Linked DNA regions of Homo sapiens: regions 1 and 3 are each linked to region 2. The links are contacts of gene promoters, found by promoter capture Hi-C in blood cells and fetal thymus (Javierre and others, 2016). All regions are on one chromosome and are shown on one strand. Each heading gives the region's core, a stretch centred on a gene start or on the middle of the fragment in contact. The rest is flanking DNA. Distances are from core to core; before and after follow the strand shown.

Region 1 (4,285 bases), core at 1,618-4,117, 290 kb before region 2:
AAGGCAGGATACAGAGGCCAAGATCCCCAGGGCAGGCCCGTGCAGCCCCTTCAGCCCATCCACCGTGAGGGCAGCCACGTTCCCCAGGGAATACCAGCCTTGCGGAAGAGCTGAGTTTGGCAAGATAGTGGTGGGGCCTGTACCCAGACTTAGGTAAAGGAAGGAGGCAAAAGACCTAAAACGGTTGGCCCTGGCCTTAAGGGCTCAACTAGAATCCTGGGCCTCCAGGATTTTGCAGGTGCACACAAGCATGCACCCCTGAGAAATGGATGCAGGACTCACATAGCCTGTACATGCACCTATGTATGCACACAGGTACATGGGTCTCACCCAGGTGAGAGTCTACGCTCAGCAGTGAGGCTCGGGGGAGGGCCCAGGGCTGCGGCTCACCTGCAGGATGAGGATCTCCCTCTCCAAGGTGTGACACTCCTCCTCCAGAAGGCCCCTGGGACATGAGGGAGCAGCAGCCAGAACCCGAGACACAGGACCAGGGCTCAGCTGAGTCCACCACATGGCCCCAACCTCCAGCCTCAGCAGGAGCCCCACCCAACCTGTCCTTCCTCAGCCCACACTGCCCTCTGCTGCTTGGGGGCTGACCCAGCATAGACGTCTGGCCCCTGTGAGGCTCTTTCTGGGCAGGAAGTATCTTCCCCTCGCCTGCCTCACCCTGGCAGGCATCCTTCTCTCTCCCACACTTCTGCACTGTGATTCTTCTTGCCTCCATCTTCCCCCACATCACAGCCCTTCCGCTGCTTAAAATCCTCTGACACAGGCTACCCCTGTGTCAAGGTATTTATTTTTGAAACAGGGTCGGCCAGGCGAGGTGGCTCATGCCTGTAATCCCAGCACTTTGGGAGGCTGAGATGGGCGGATCATGAGATCAAGAGATCGAGACCATCCTGGCTAACACAGTGAAACCCCGCCTCTACTAAAAATACAAAAAAATTAGCTGGGCATGGTGGTGGGCATCTGTAGTCCCAGCTACTCGGGAGGCTTAGGCAGGAGAATGGTGTGAACCCGGGAGGTGGAGCTTGCAGTGAGCCAAGATCACGCCACTGCACTCCAGCCTGGGCGCCAGAACAAGACTCCATCTCAAAAAAAAAAAAAAAAGAAAGAAAGAAAGAAAGAAACAGGGTCTTGCTCTGCCACCCATCATGACTCACTGTAGCCTTACCTTCCAGGGCTCAATCAATCCCTTCTCACCTCAGCCTCCCAAGTAACTGGTACAGGCGTGCACCACCACGCCCAGCTAATTTTTGTATTTGTTTTGGTAGAGATGGGGTTTTCCCATGTTGGCCAAGCTGGTTTCGAATTCCTGGGCCCAAATGACCCTCTTGCCTCGGCCTCCCAAATTGCTGGGATTATAGGCATGCACCATCATGCTCGGCCGTGGCATCTGTACTTGGCTGCTTCCTGAAAGCAACCTCACTAGCTCTATAGCAGCCAGCTCTTTCCACCTCTCAGCCTTACGCACATGGGCCTCCCCGCCAAGTATACTACCCACCTCCTGTCTCACAATCCCAGCACCTCAAGATCCATCCTTGTCTCCACCCCTGCCTATACACATGCAGGTGCCCCTGGGCCTCACCTCAGGTGTCTGGCCACCTGGTCAATGTTGGACACGTTCAGTTGGTCCTTGATGATGCTGAGATCTCTGTGACCGCTGCTGGCAATGAAGTCACTATCACTCTCCGCATGTTGCTCACCCCAGGCCTTCAGGACCCAAATATCACTTCTAGGCAACTGTTTCTTTTCTCACAAAGGCAATATAATATAGTGCAAAGAGTAAGAGTTTGGGAGCCTAGGTTTGCAAATGAGCTCTGCCACCCTTCATTGTGTGTGACTTCAGGCAAATCACTTATCGCTTCTGAGCTTTAGTTTCTTTTCCTTTTTTTTTTTTTTTTTTGAGACAAGATTGTGCTCTGTTGCCCAGGCTGGAGTGCAGTAGCACCATCTTGGCTCACTGCAGCCTTGACATCCCGGGCTCAAGTGCTCTTCCCACATCAGCCTCCTGAGTAGCTGGGACTACAGGTGCGTGCCACCACGCCTGTTCAATTTTTTTGCACAGATGGGGTCTCACTATGTTGCCCAGGCTTCTTTTTTTTTTTTCTTAGAGACAGGGTCTTTGTCACCCAGGTTGGAGTGCACAGGTGCAATCATAGCTCACTGCAGCCCCGAATTCCTGAGCTCAAGCAATTATCCCACCTCAGCCTCCCAAGTAGCTGGGAATACAGGCATGCGCCACCTCACCTGACTATTTTTTTTTTCACTTTTTGTAAAGATGGGGTCTCCCTGTATTGCCCAGGCTGATCTCAAACTCCTGGCCTCAAGCCATCCTCCCGCCTCAGCCTCCCAAAGTGCTGGGATTACAGGCATGAGCCACTATGCCCGGCCTTTAATTTCCTCTTGTGCAAAATGGAGATTTTGCCCACCTCCTCAGGCTGTGTGAGGATTAGAATAAGAAGTTGCTGCCATCCACTTATGAATATTTTATCTCATTCAGTCCCAGCTGTAAATACCATTTGTGACCATCCTCTTCAGCTCTCCCTGCCTCCCTAGCCCAGCCCTCACTCCTGTTCTCTAGGCCAGAGGAACAACCGCCTGCTGGACATGGCTTCCTTTCTTCCCTCTTCCTACAAAGCTCTTCTCTTTCATCTCCCTGAAAACTGCTCCTCATACTACAACACGCAGATCAAACCACTTTCTCCAGGAAGCTTTGCCTGTCCCCAGGCTAGGCAGGTGTTTCCTCTGGGTTTCAGTAGCCCTCATGGGCTGATAATCTCTATCACAAGTGGCGGTGGAAGTGCCCAGCCCGTGACTGGAATCTCCTGCATGGAGCCAGGTGCAACCCACCAGTGGGCTAGGGCCCTCTGCCAAGCAGGGACAGATCCCTCTCTCCTACCATCACCTTACCTGGGCCCACCACCTCTCATCTGGAATATCTCCTGTTCTGGCAAATCACACCTGGGCTCCTCCAAGGCAAAGTGCAGGACCCTGGGGCTATACTGGACCCAAGCTTGGGCCTGGTCCCTGCAGAAGGTGCACAGGAAGGAAGCTGAGAGGCTCCTTTCTGGAAACCACAGAAAAGGCAACCCTGGCTCCTTGTTAGGGGCAGCGCTAGCCCACCTGGTATCTAGGGAAAGGGCCCAGGCCTGAGGCTCCCACCTGCCCTCACAGATGGCTTTGTGGCGGAGACCCTGGAGCAACTGCCGGAGCTCCTGGCGCAAGAGGTCCTTTAGGAGAGGCGGTGGTGCCAGAAGAGAAGAGGGGTCAGAGATGGGGCGGGAGCTGGGGGCTTGAGAGGATCGAGCCTCTTGGAGCAGTGCCCGTAACATCGCCACCTGCAAGGAGAGCTGGGATACCTTGCGACTGGGGAGGGGAGTGTCCGGAATGGTGGGGGCTGGGGGAGTGAGGGAGAGGGCGGAGTCAAAGGGGAGACCAGGATAGGATCTCGGGAGTTACCCGGCAGGGCCAGGGACCCGCAGAGGTGGGAAATCACCCGAGTCGTGGGGCAGGCCAGGGGCGTGGCCCACCTTCCCTCTCCCCACCTCCGCCCGCAGCTCCAGGCTCAGGTCCACCGCCGCCTCCCCCAGAATCCTCTTCACTTCGCGTCGCTCCCGGAGCGGAACGTGCTCCTCCACCAGCTCCCACAGCGAGGGGGAGTGCCGGAGCATGACCCACCGACGCCGCCGTCCCCGGCTCGGACCTACGGGCCGCAGGTCAGAGTGCGGGAGGTACCGCGGGCCCGCCGGCAACGCTCACCAAACCCCGCCCCTCTATGGGCCCCGCCCTCTCCCAAGCCCCACCCGTGCTCTGCCGCTGGTCCCCTCGGCTGGGATTGCCCGTTCCGGAACTGCCAGTCCTTGGCGCTCTCTTCTGCCCGGCTTTTGGCCGACTCGGATGCCGGGGGCCCAGAAACCAGGCAGTGGGAACCAGGGCCCTAGCCCCACCTCTTCCGCGTGGCCATCACCCGGGAAACCACGCCGCGACTCTAGGGCCCCGCCCCCTCCCGTGTTTGGTCCGGCGGGCGGCGCGTGCCGGCTGGGAGTTCAGACTCACCTCGGCGCTCCACCGAGCCCTGACCCAAGCACTTTGGGCTCGGCCCTGGGCACCTTTAGGCCTCAGGGAACGTGTTAAGACCTGAGAAATCTGGGTCCACGGGTTTATTACTTCGTCGCCTCCACTGTCCCGGAAGCAGTGCAAGGACAAACTTCCCCTTAAGGCCAGTGAAAGCCTAGGGAGTGGCAGCGCTTGGAGAACCAGGATGGCCCGGGTCAGGTTTACT
Region 2 (4,747 bases), core at 1,129-3,628:
CCTGCCACCACGCCTGGCTAATTTTTTGTATTTTTTTTTTGGTAGAGACGGGGTTTCATCATGTTGGCTAGGCTGGTCTCGAACTCAAGGTGGGAAGATTTCTTGAGCCCAGGAGTTCAAGAACAGCCTGGGCAACATGACAAGACCCTGTCTCTACAAAAAAAATTTTTTTTAATTCTCCAGGTCACCTGCCTGTGGTCCCAGCTACTTGGGAAGCTGAGGTGGGAGGATCGCCTGAGTCCAGAAAGTCAAGGCTGCAGAGAGCCACATTCACTGCACTCCAGCATGGGTGACAGAGGGAGACCCTGTCTCAAAAAAAAAAGAAAAAAGAAAAAGTGACAATGACAAGTAAAGTGTTACTGTATTCCTGATAGTTAGCTACAGCTTCCTTTGAAGTAAATTCTATTACTTGTTTACTCTTTGCACCACACAGGACAAAGGTACCTCTTGGATTAATGCCATCAACCTACCTTTTGTGCAACCTCATATCCTGCTTTTTCTGCTAAGAAACCCCCTGGAACCACCCATGAGCATCTCAGGTTCCCCTGCACCTTTGTCATCCTCACTTTCTCATCTGCTCACTTCTTCCCCTTCATACAGCCGGCTACCCACTCTTCATGACCCAATTCAAGCCTCAGCTTCCCTGTGAAACCTTCCTCAAACACATGGATTTCTCCTTTTCTCGGTTTCTCAGAGTACCTACCATCTTGGAATTCTAGAGACCATATCACAGTTATCATTGTCATGTGTGTGCTTTATTCCCTCAAGTATATTATAGGCCCATTAGAGCAAGTTTCTTATCTTAAATGGTTTTGAGTTTCCCCTCAGTCAATGCCTTGCATAAAATATGTACTCAAGAGGCGTTCCATTGATTGATACAAAGTCTGTTAGTCTCTGAGAACATGAATGTCTTGTTTCATCGTTAACATTTTATTTTTATTAAACCATGGTTAGACAGTTAGACACGCGAAATGGAGAGATTCACCACTTAATATCTCAAAATATCCTTAAGAATCTCTAATCATAGGAGGAGCTGTATTGCCTTAAGAGATTATTTGAAAGTATCATTTGGCTATAAATTTCTGTGCCAGCTTCCTTTTAATCCTCTGTTGACTTGAAAGTACACCAAACATTTCAGTGATCATCTCTACAAGATAATTCTGCCTTAGAAACAACCTAATTTGTCATGGGGACTATCTTACTTTTAGTAACCTAATAAGAGTTTTTTCCTACCTTAATGTCCAGCTATCTATAATTCACAGTACATCCACTGAAAAGTTTGAGTATTTTACTTTCTGAGGTAATAGCCGCCTTCACTGGTCCTTCCCTCAATTAATTACATTCAGTTATCAGGTTTCACTCCTTCCTCATACGTGAAGGAAACATAAATGAGGCTTACTGAGGAATCATAAAAATGGACATTGTTGTAAAAAGGAATCCAAAATGTTCATGGGACACTCTCCTAACCAAACCTGCCCTCCTCACTAAGATATTTTCTCTTGCAAGCAAAAGCACCGAGGACACAACGGGGGAAAGTGCCAGAAGGAAAGGAAGCAAGAGAGGCGTACTTTGCCGATCAAACTGACCCCAGTTCTGGCCCCCGCTAGAGCAGTAAGCAATGACAACCGCTACCCAAACGCTGCCGATTCCCGCTCAGGCGCTCCCTGGACTTTTCTTTCCTTTTCCCACAGCAGGGCCCGAATGACGGTGTCCGTGCTCTGCGCCAAGGTGCGCAGCGCTGCGGGGTTTCACACGGAGATGATCTCAGACCTCCTGGCCTGCGTCCGGCCGGCCTTTCCCCCAGGCTCGGCGGCCCCCACCCAGGAGAGGTCATCCAGGTACTGGGCCCCCAGCCCGAAGGACGACTGGGCCGTGCCCCGACCCCGCCTTCCCGGGCACTAGCGCGCGGGCTCCGCGCCCCGCCCAGCCCGGGACCCGCGGCCGGCGGGGGAGGGGCGGGGCGGAGCGGCGACCGTTATTCGCGGTCAGCCATCGCGCCCCGAAGCGCACTGGGCAGGCCCTTACCACAGCGGAGAGGGAGGCAGGGGGGAGGTGGCGCCCGGCCCGACGCGGGGCAGGAAGGCGGAGGCAGCGGCGTAGGCGGCGGCGACAGCCGCGGGGGACCCCGGCGGGAGCCCACAACGCGCTGGGCTGCATGGGCGCCGCCATAGTGGGGACGCAGCGGCGGGCGGAGCGCGCGGCCGCGACCCGGTCGGGCGCCTGCGACCAATGGGCTCGCGGAAGCCGGGCGGAGCGAGGGCCTGGCCAATGCGGAGCTGCGCTGCCCCGAGCAGCCCAATAGACGCAGGAGCCGCGGATTTGCCGTCCCGCCCACCCCGCCTACCACGAGAGCAGTGCTGCGGCGAGTGCGGGGCGAGAGGTTCGCGCTGGTGGAGCACCCCAGCTTGCAGGTTCAGCGTGGGTGTCTCTCCCGGGCACATCGAGCTGTCTAGAGGAACCCTCTTCCCCTGGCTTCACGGCCCAGAGGACGCACGGCTCTCTCCCCTCGAGAGCGTGTTTCGTCGCCCGCGCGGGGAACGCAAAGTGCTAGGGTAGTCACGGCCACTTCACGCCGAGGGACATCTCATCTCGCCCTCCAGGTCGTGAGCGCACCCATTCCGCTCACTGAGGCCGAAAGCTTCGGACCTCCGTGGGCCCTGGTGGGTAAGGGGGCACGGGGGTGAGCGTTAAGAGACTCGTAGAACATTTTTAGTCCGCGCGTGGCACAAGGCCTCCAAGCCCCACGTACACTTTGCAGCCCTCCCACTCCTTTTTCATTCCTGCGGCTGAGCCCTGGTGTTATCCGCCTGGGGCGGAATTTAAAACTTAATTCCTCAACAAAGTCGGGGTGGTCTTTAAACTGCAACCTTGGATCCAAAGGCCCTACCTTACAAAGGGAAGGCAGTTTGCCCTACAAAAAGGCTTCTGGGAGGAGCTGCCTAAGGCAGGAAGGGACTGGCAGGCCGGGAGGTGCCGCTTTTGGCTGGGGCCAGTTCTCTTGAGGTCGACCCGACTGCATAGGCAGCCAGTAGGGGAGAGAACGGGCCGGTCTGTGTGATTTGGATCACCTGAGTTGCAGTTTCCTAAGAGTTATTAGGTTGACCAAAAAAAAAAAGTGCAGTTTCTGGAAAACTGGTCAGCTGTTGAGTAAAAACTGCTGGGATTAAACCCAGCGCCCACCCCTGGAGGCAGTGGGGTCATCGAGAAAGGTAGGGATCCTGTGTAAAAAGGCTGGTGAAGTGTTCCTCTCTTCCAAAGATGTATGGATTAGTGTTCTCTCACCAATCCACTAAGGCCTGGTTCTGCCCAGCCTCCCTTGCTACATCCCCTGGGAATCCCCAAGTGGAGTGTGGGCAAAGAAAAAAAAAGGCCAACTTCCCTCCCTGGGCCCCAGGAGGGAGCTGACATAGAAAAGATCACCTCCTGCACCTCCCTTTCTCCACAATGAGATACCAAGTAGCAACCACCTCTCAACCCCCAGGGACACAAGGAAGCATCCAGAGCAGCTGAACTGACCTAAGCCTCTCCTGCACCTGGACAGGGCCATGCCACAGGAAGTGCCTGGCTGTTTAAGGGCCAGCCGGTGCAGCTCCGGGGCACCCAAGTCCTGCACCTATTCATTGCCCCCCTCCCTGCTCTGTGGTTCCCCATCCTTGTCCACTTTGACCTCAGGGATCTACCAGCCAAAGGAGATTGGGTCTTCCTCCAGGGAAGCTTCTCACCAACTAGACAGCTCGGAGAGCAATCTGAGGATCCCACTGGAGGTTGAGTCCCTTGCTTTTCAAGCACCTAAAATGCACCCATCCTTCCCACTGGTTCCACAATTTGTATAGAGCACAGATGCTGGCATGAACTTAGGCCAGTTCAACAAAGATGTATCAAATGGGGCAGCAGTGAGAGATACTCTGTTGAGAGGACTCATTGGTCTGGTGCTTCCTCTGTTACCTCATCTTGCCCGTCTCTAAGGCAGAGCAAGCACAACAAAGAGGTGCTCAGAGCCAGAAGTGTCCCTGCTCCCATGACCCACCATACTTGGCCTAATACAGAGCTTGACAAGCAAAGGACCCACTCTCTGGAACTTCCTAGGGAATGCCTTACTGATTTGTCTTAAAATACACAGCCCCGCTCCAGAGCCTATGACTCTAGATACACCCCCCAGCCTGACGTGGGCCACGTGGGCTCCTTGGGGCAGACAGCCAATCCTCTGCTCAACACATTTTATTGCTAAGGACAAGGTGATGCACCAGTTTTCAAAATAATTTGGTTTATAGTGTTCATACGTAACAAAAAAGGGGAAGTATTATAAATCTGATTCTTGTATACACAGGGTATTGGTGTGAAGCCCTCCAATCCTGGGCCCAGGCAAACAAATTCTTGAGGAGCAAAAACCTGTTTAACCCCTTCAGTATTGCCCTCTAGTCCCACCCCCCACCCCAAAATCAGCTCCCTCCCACCTACAGTGGGCCTCCAATGGCCCCAGTTTTTTCATCCTAACCCTCCCAGCCCCTGCATGATTGCAATTTTCTGTTGACAGAATCACCCACCAGGCTCTGCCTGCTTCCATCATTAAAATCCCCGATTCAGGGTAATCCCCACCCACACCCTGTAATACTTTGCCACAGGGGCTCTGCACCTAGAGTGTTGTGGGCACACACCCATGTTATCCCCATGTTCTCCTTTAGGGGAAGACAAAGAGGTGGCATCAGCTCCTTAGCATCTCAATACTGCAGCTTTGCCAGCACTGTCT
Region 3 (4,533 bases), core at 889-3,388, 320 kb after region 2:
TAATTTTTTGTATTTTTTTTAGTAGAGACAGGGTTTCACCGTTTTAGCCAGGATGGTCTCGATCTCCTGACCTCGTGATCCGCCCGCCTCGGCCTCCCAAAGTGCTGGGATTACAGGCGTGAGCCACCGCGCCCGGCCTTGTTTCATTTTTTTATGTGGCTATCAGAAAATTTAATATTACACATGTGGCTTGCTTTAGATTTCTACAGGACGGTGTTGTCCTAGACTATCTGCCTAAAAGGTATGTTGCATTTCCCCACAACATCCCTCCACCTCCTTTCACTTTAATCTATAATGAAACATCCTCTAAACTGTTTCATAGTTTTTCTTGTGTTAATATTTCTGATTGATCTTGATTGATATTTCTGATGCATGAGCTATTCTACCACCTCTGTGAACATGACTATTTTAAATAAGGCATAGTTTCCTACCACCATATTCAATGTTGGGTCTTACCACACCAAATCCCAGTGAACTGGAGATTTACCATTCTGTGGCTACTTTATTACTTATACCATGAACAATATGGTTAAGAACACAAGGACTGGAGCCTGGCCATCTGTTTTGGAGTCCTGACTCTAATACTTAATAGCTGTGTAACTTTGTTACTTTTTTTTTTTTTTGAGACGGAGTTTCACTCTTGTTGCCCAGGCTGAAGTGCAATGGCATGATCTCAGCTCATCGCAACCTCCACCTCCCGGGTTCAAGCGATTCTCCTGCCTCAGCCTCCCGAGTAGCTGAGATTACAGGCCTGCGCCACCATGCTTGGCTAATTTTGCATTTTCAGTACAGACAGGCTTTCTCCATGTTGGTCAGGCTGGTCTCGAACTCCTCACCTCAGGTGATCTGCCCACCTCGGCCTCCCAGTGTTGGGATTACAGGTGTAAGCCACTGCGCCCGGCTTACTTTGTTACTCTTAATATCTCTGTGCCTCAGTTCCTAAACTAAAAAAAGGAGATGATACAGTGTCCACTTCATAGGGCTGAGGATTAACTGATATTGGTAAAGAGCTTAGAATGGTACTGAGCATGCAGTATGTATGCAGTAATGAATACTATTTCTATCATTATACACATCTCTCACCCTTCCCACCTACTGATATGTTGGCACCTTTCCTGGTGGTGGTGTTTTATCCGAATCTGAGATTTTAAGCTCAGATCTTCTAACTCCAAACTGCTAGTTCCTGGATGAGTGGCATTTGAGTAAGGTACTAAATCTTTCTCATTTTTCAGTTTTCTCCTCTGTGAGAATGCCACCTTCCTTGCACAAGTCTGAATGACACAACATATATAAGGTTCCTTGCATGTTCCTTAGCATTTAACGAATATATCATATCACCTTTCTGGTTTATTACATGTGATTCTCACAACACACTATAAGACAGATATTTTATAAAGAAGGAAACAGGATCCGGGAAGACTCGCCTGAGGTTGCACAGATTAGCTACATGACAGCGCCAATATTGGAACGAGGTCTCAGTCCGACTCAAATGTTTTTTTCATGAAATTAAAGCTGCTTTTCTAAAAGCATGAGCCCTAGAACTAAATAAATTCATGCTGTTTATGGTATTCCAATGCCTAAAGAAATGCAAAAACCAGCAAAGTAAATCTACTGCCGTGTTGCCCATTGAAACTGCAACAGAAAGTCAAAATACAAGTTTTGTTAACACCGCTATAAGTCTTAGAGACGACGACGCGGGTGACATGTCAGTAAACAAAACAAAGCGAACAGTTACTCCTTTAGCTCCCCGAGGAAACTGCGGACCGCGTCCCATACACAGTCCGCAGGGGTACCATAGTCGGGCCTTCCGGGCTGGGCTGGTCCCTGCCGAGGCTACGCAGCCCGGCCACCCCCAGACCTAGAGGAGGCCAACGCCACGCCTGCCCGCCGGACCCTCCCCCTCGGATCTCGGGGCCCAGTGCTGCGCCCGCCCGCCCCTCACCTCCGGCTCCGGGCGCTCCGAGGCCATCACACAGCCCTCCCGCGCCGGCCCGGGCCAGTGAGGGTGTTCCACTCTTGACCCCTGACCTCGCTACCTCGGCACCCAGCAGGAACCGGAAGTTGGTGGGAGGGCCGAGTTCCAGTTTTCTGATTGGTGGACGAAGCCTTCTCGTAGGCGTTTGCTGACTGGAAAACCGGAAGTGAAATCGTGGCAGCCGCCTCGGCCGCCGCAATGCAGGTGAGAGTTGCGTTGGGCGTACTAGCGGCTGGCAAGCTTCGGGTACAGGGACCGAGAGTGGGCTGGCTAAGGAGAATGAAGAGTTGGGACTGAGAAGAGAGGGCAGAACCCACGGCTGATAAGGGAATGTGGGCTGGGGGGCGAGGCTAATTGGAGCGGGAGCGGCGGCGATTAGAGGTGGGGGTGGAGCTTGCCTGACAGGAGACAGTCGGGCTAAATCCGGAGGGAGGAGGCAGCACCTGTTTGCTTGGCGTGGGAAAGGATTAGGTTGTAATACGGGGAGGCTGAGATGCAGTCCAAGGAAGACGGCTCAAGAAGGTGGTGGGTTGGCTCAGGCCCTGTCCTAAGCTGCTGGATGGAGGCTGTTGGTTGCCGATATAGCAGGGGATCTAATTGGAAAGAAGCCCAAGCAGTGAGGGAATTGTGGGCCGCGATGGCTGAAAGCTAAGCAGCTTATAATCAGAGGCCATGGTGGAACCCGGGATCAAGTTTCTGTCAGGCAGGTTTGCAAGACAGTTTTGCATCCCTCTTCCCAGCCTGTGCCCTATAGTTGTTAAGGGTGAAGAAATGGAGTAAAACAGGAGACCACCGATGGGAAGGAAATGCTTTGCAGACCCCCAGCATTTTAATTTGTTTGTCCAGTGCTTAGAAGCATGTGTGGTTTTTGTTTTTCATTTGTCACTTAGTTTCTTGCAGCTGGTAGTCTCAATAAATGTTAATGGGTTGACTGAGCTTGTGAAAGAGGCACGGGAATATTGACACAGAGATAGATGATTGCATATTAATTCAGCAAGGAGAAGGTTGAAACAAAATGATGAGAGCAGATGGAAAGCTGGAGTCGTTGGTTGGGGGAGGGAAAGGGGAGAGCAGGACTGGTGTTCAGAGAAGTCTTCATGAGTAGGCAGATTTCCCAGAGACTGACAAGACAGCCAGGCTCACAGATGCTAGGATGGAGGAAGCTGGAGTGCATGTGCTACAGAGGTGCACATGAGAGAATGATCTCCTGGCATTAGGTCTGTCGAAAATGTCTCAGTGAGGGAGTGTAGGGTGTACCTAACACAGAGAAAAACCAGGCATAGATTAGGAGGTGATGGGGAAAAGGAATCAGTTGGTGGAAGGACTTGGGGTCAGGCAAACAGGTTGGAAGGTCTCAGGGTTGATGCTGTCTATAACCCAAATACCAAAGATAGAAAACAACCTGGCTATCCTATGCCAATGAGATCCTGTGTTACCTGACTGGTGTTGCACACCATCTCCTTGGCTTTCCAGCCCTCCTTTCTATGTGTCATACTCGTTTATCTGGGTGACCAACCTGTTCCTATTGGTGCAGAGAGAGGAGAAGCAGCTTGAGGCATCATTAGATGCACTGCTGAGTCAAGTGGCTGATCTGAAGAACTCTCTGGGGAGTTTCATTTGCAAGTTGGAGAACGAGTATGGCCGGCTGACCTGGTAAGAGTTACCAGGGCAAGCTAGGAAGGGCTTATGGGTGGGGGGGCCTAGCCTCCTGATGAATAGGACATTTCTAATGATGTAACCATTTATCAGTTTGCAAACATCTTTTGATTTGGAAAGAGCTGGGTTTCCTAACATTTAGCAAGTGGATTCCATGGCAAGGAAGTAGAGAAATGCTCAGTTTCCTAACCCAAGTTCTTTCTAGCTTTCAATTCTTACCCTTTGACTTCTCTGGTGAGGAGGTCCTCCCACTACAGCTCTATTCGTGCTGGATCTCTTGCCACAGATGTGGCTGAGTCTTTTAGAGCCAACCTACTCTGAAGTGTGGATCTTATTTCCAGGCTGGAAAGGAGGCTTTTACCCGGTTTCTGAAGTTTTAGTTATAACAGTGTAGCCCTGGTTCCTATTTTGCCACTGTTCCTCACCCCATTCAAACAATGAACTGGGTTTTTTCTACGTCTGTTTCATAAACTGAAACTATGTCCCTCTTTCATAGCCCTGTCATCCCTGTTAGTCTGTTCCCACTTAGGCTAGTCATAGGGCTATGAGACTTTTGGAGGTGAATCCAAGTGTTCCTAGCCTGAAGGAACTAGGACTATTTTACTAAGAACCACCCAGGGAAGGGGTACAACATTCTTACACCTTGTTACCACCACCAGGCCATCTGTCCTGGACAGCTTTGCCTTGCTTTCTGGACAGCTGAACACTCTGAACAAGGTCTTGAAGCATGAAAAAACACCGCTGTTCCGTAACCAGGTCATCATTCCTCTGGTGTTGTCTCCAGACCGAGATGAAGATCTCATGGTAAGAGGAGAAAAAGAATACAACTTGGGAAATTAAGGGGTTTTTTAGGCTTCTTTAGTATTTAGGGAAATTAAGTTATTAGCTGAGAGCCTAGAAAT

The links. Contacts are between HindIII fragments. The CHiCAGO score rates a contact against its expected background, and 5 or more counts as called.
Region 1: a fragment that was not itself captured here is called in contact with the fragment with the promoter of KDM4A-AS1 in region 2 in 1 of 17 cell types (monocytes); the score reaches 6.3 in monocytes.
Region 3: the fragment with the promoter of MED8 here is called in contact with the fragment with the promoter of KDM4A-AS1 in region 2 in 2 of 17 cell types (M2 macrophages and fetal thymus); the score reaches 6.2 in M2 macrophages.

What each region holds. Positions count from the first base shown.
Region 1 is chr1:43,991,268-43,995,552 of GRCh38, reverse strand. It overlaps CCDC24 (coiled-coil domain containing 24), which reads right to left and starts at 3,954. Exons shown (of 9, transcript NM_152499.4): 1 at 3,807-3,954; 2 at 3,549-3,706; 3 at 3,166-3,341; 4 at 2,914-3,030; 5 at 1,589-1,666; 6 at 391-445. The coding sequence starts at 3,674. RefSeq lists an enhancer at 422-716 and silencers at 3,501-3,550, 3,691-3,800. The HindIII fragment of the contact is 302 bases long and covers 2,717-3,018 here.
Region 2 is chr1:43,704,972-43,709,718 of GRCh38, reverse strand. KDM4A-AS1 (KDM4A antisense RNA 1) reads left to right here and starts at 2,378. Exons shown (of 5, transcript NR_033827.1): 1 at 2,378-2,660. ST3GAL3 (ST3 beta-galactoside alpha-2,3-sialyltransferase 3) reads right to left here and starts at 2,183. Exons shown (of 12, transcript NM_006279.5): 1 at 2,026-2,183. It overlaps KDM4A (lysine demethylase 4A), which reads right to left. Exons shown (of 22, transcript NM_014663.3): 22 at 4,201-4,747. It overlaps ST3GAL3-AS1 (ST3GAL3 antisense RNA 1), which reads left to right. Exons shown (of 4, transcript NR_125986.1): 4 at 184-327. RefSeq lists silencers at 1,716-1,765, 1,796-2,295 and enhancers at 2,426-2,505, 2,231-2,748. The HindIII fragment of the contact is 3,706 bases long and covers 1-2,640 here.
Region 3 is chr1:43,387,405-43,391,937 of GRCh38, reverse strand. It overlaps MED8 (mediator complex subunit 8), which reads left to right and starts at 2,138. Exons shown (of 7, transcript NM_201542.5): 1 at 2,138-2,179; 2 at 3,510-3,628; 3 at 4,291-4,435. The coding sequence starts at 2,174. SZT2 (SZT2 subunit of KICSTOR complex) reads right to left here and starts at 2,039. Exons shown (of 72, transcript NM_001365999.1): 1 at 1,943-2,039. The coding sequence starts at 1,969. RefSeq lists a silencer at 1,719-2,048 and an enhancer at 3,489-3,628. The HindIII fragment of the contact is 2,691 bases long and covers 1-2,217 here.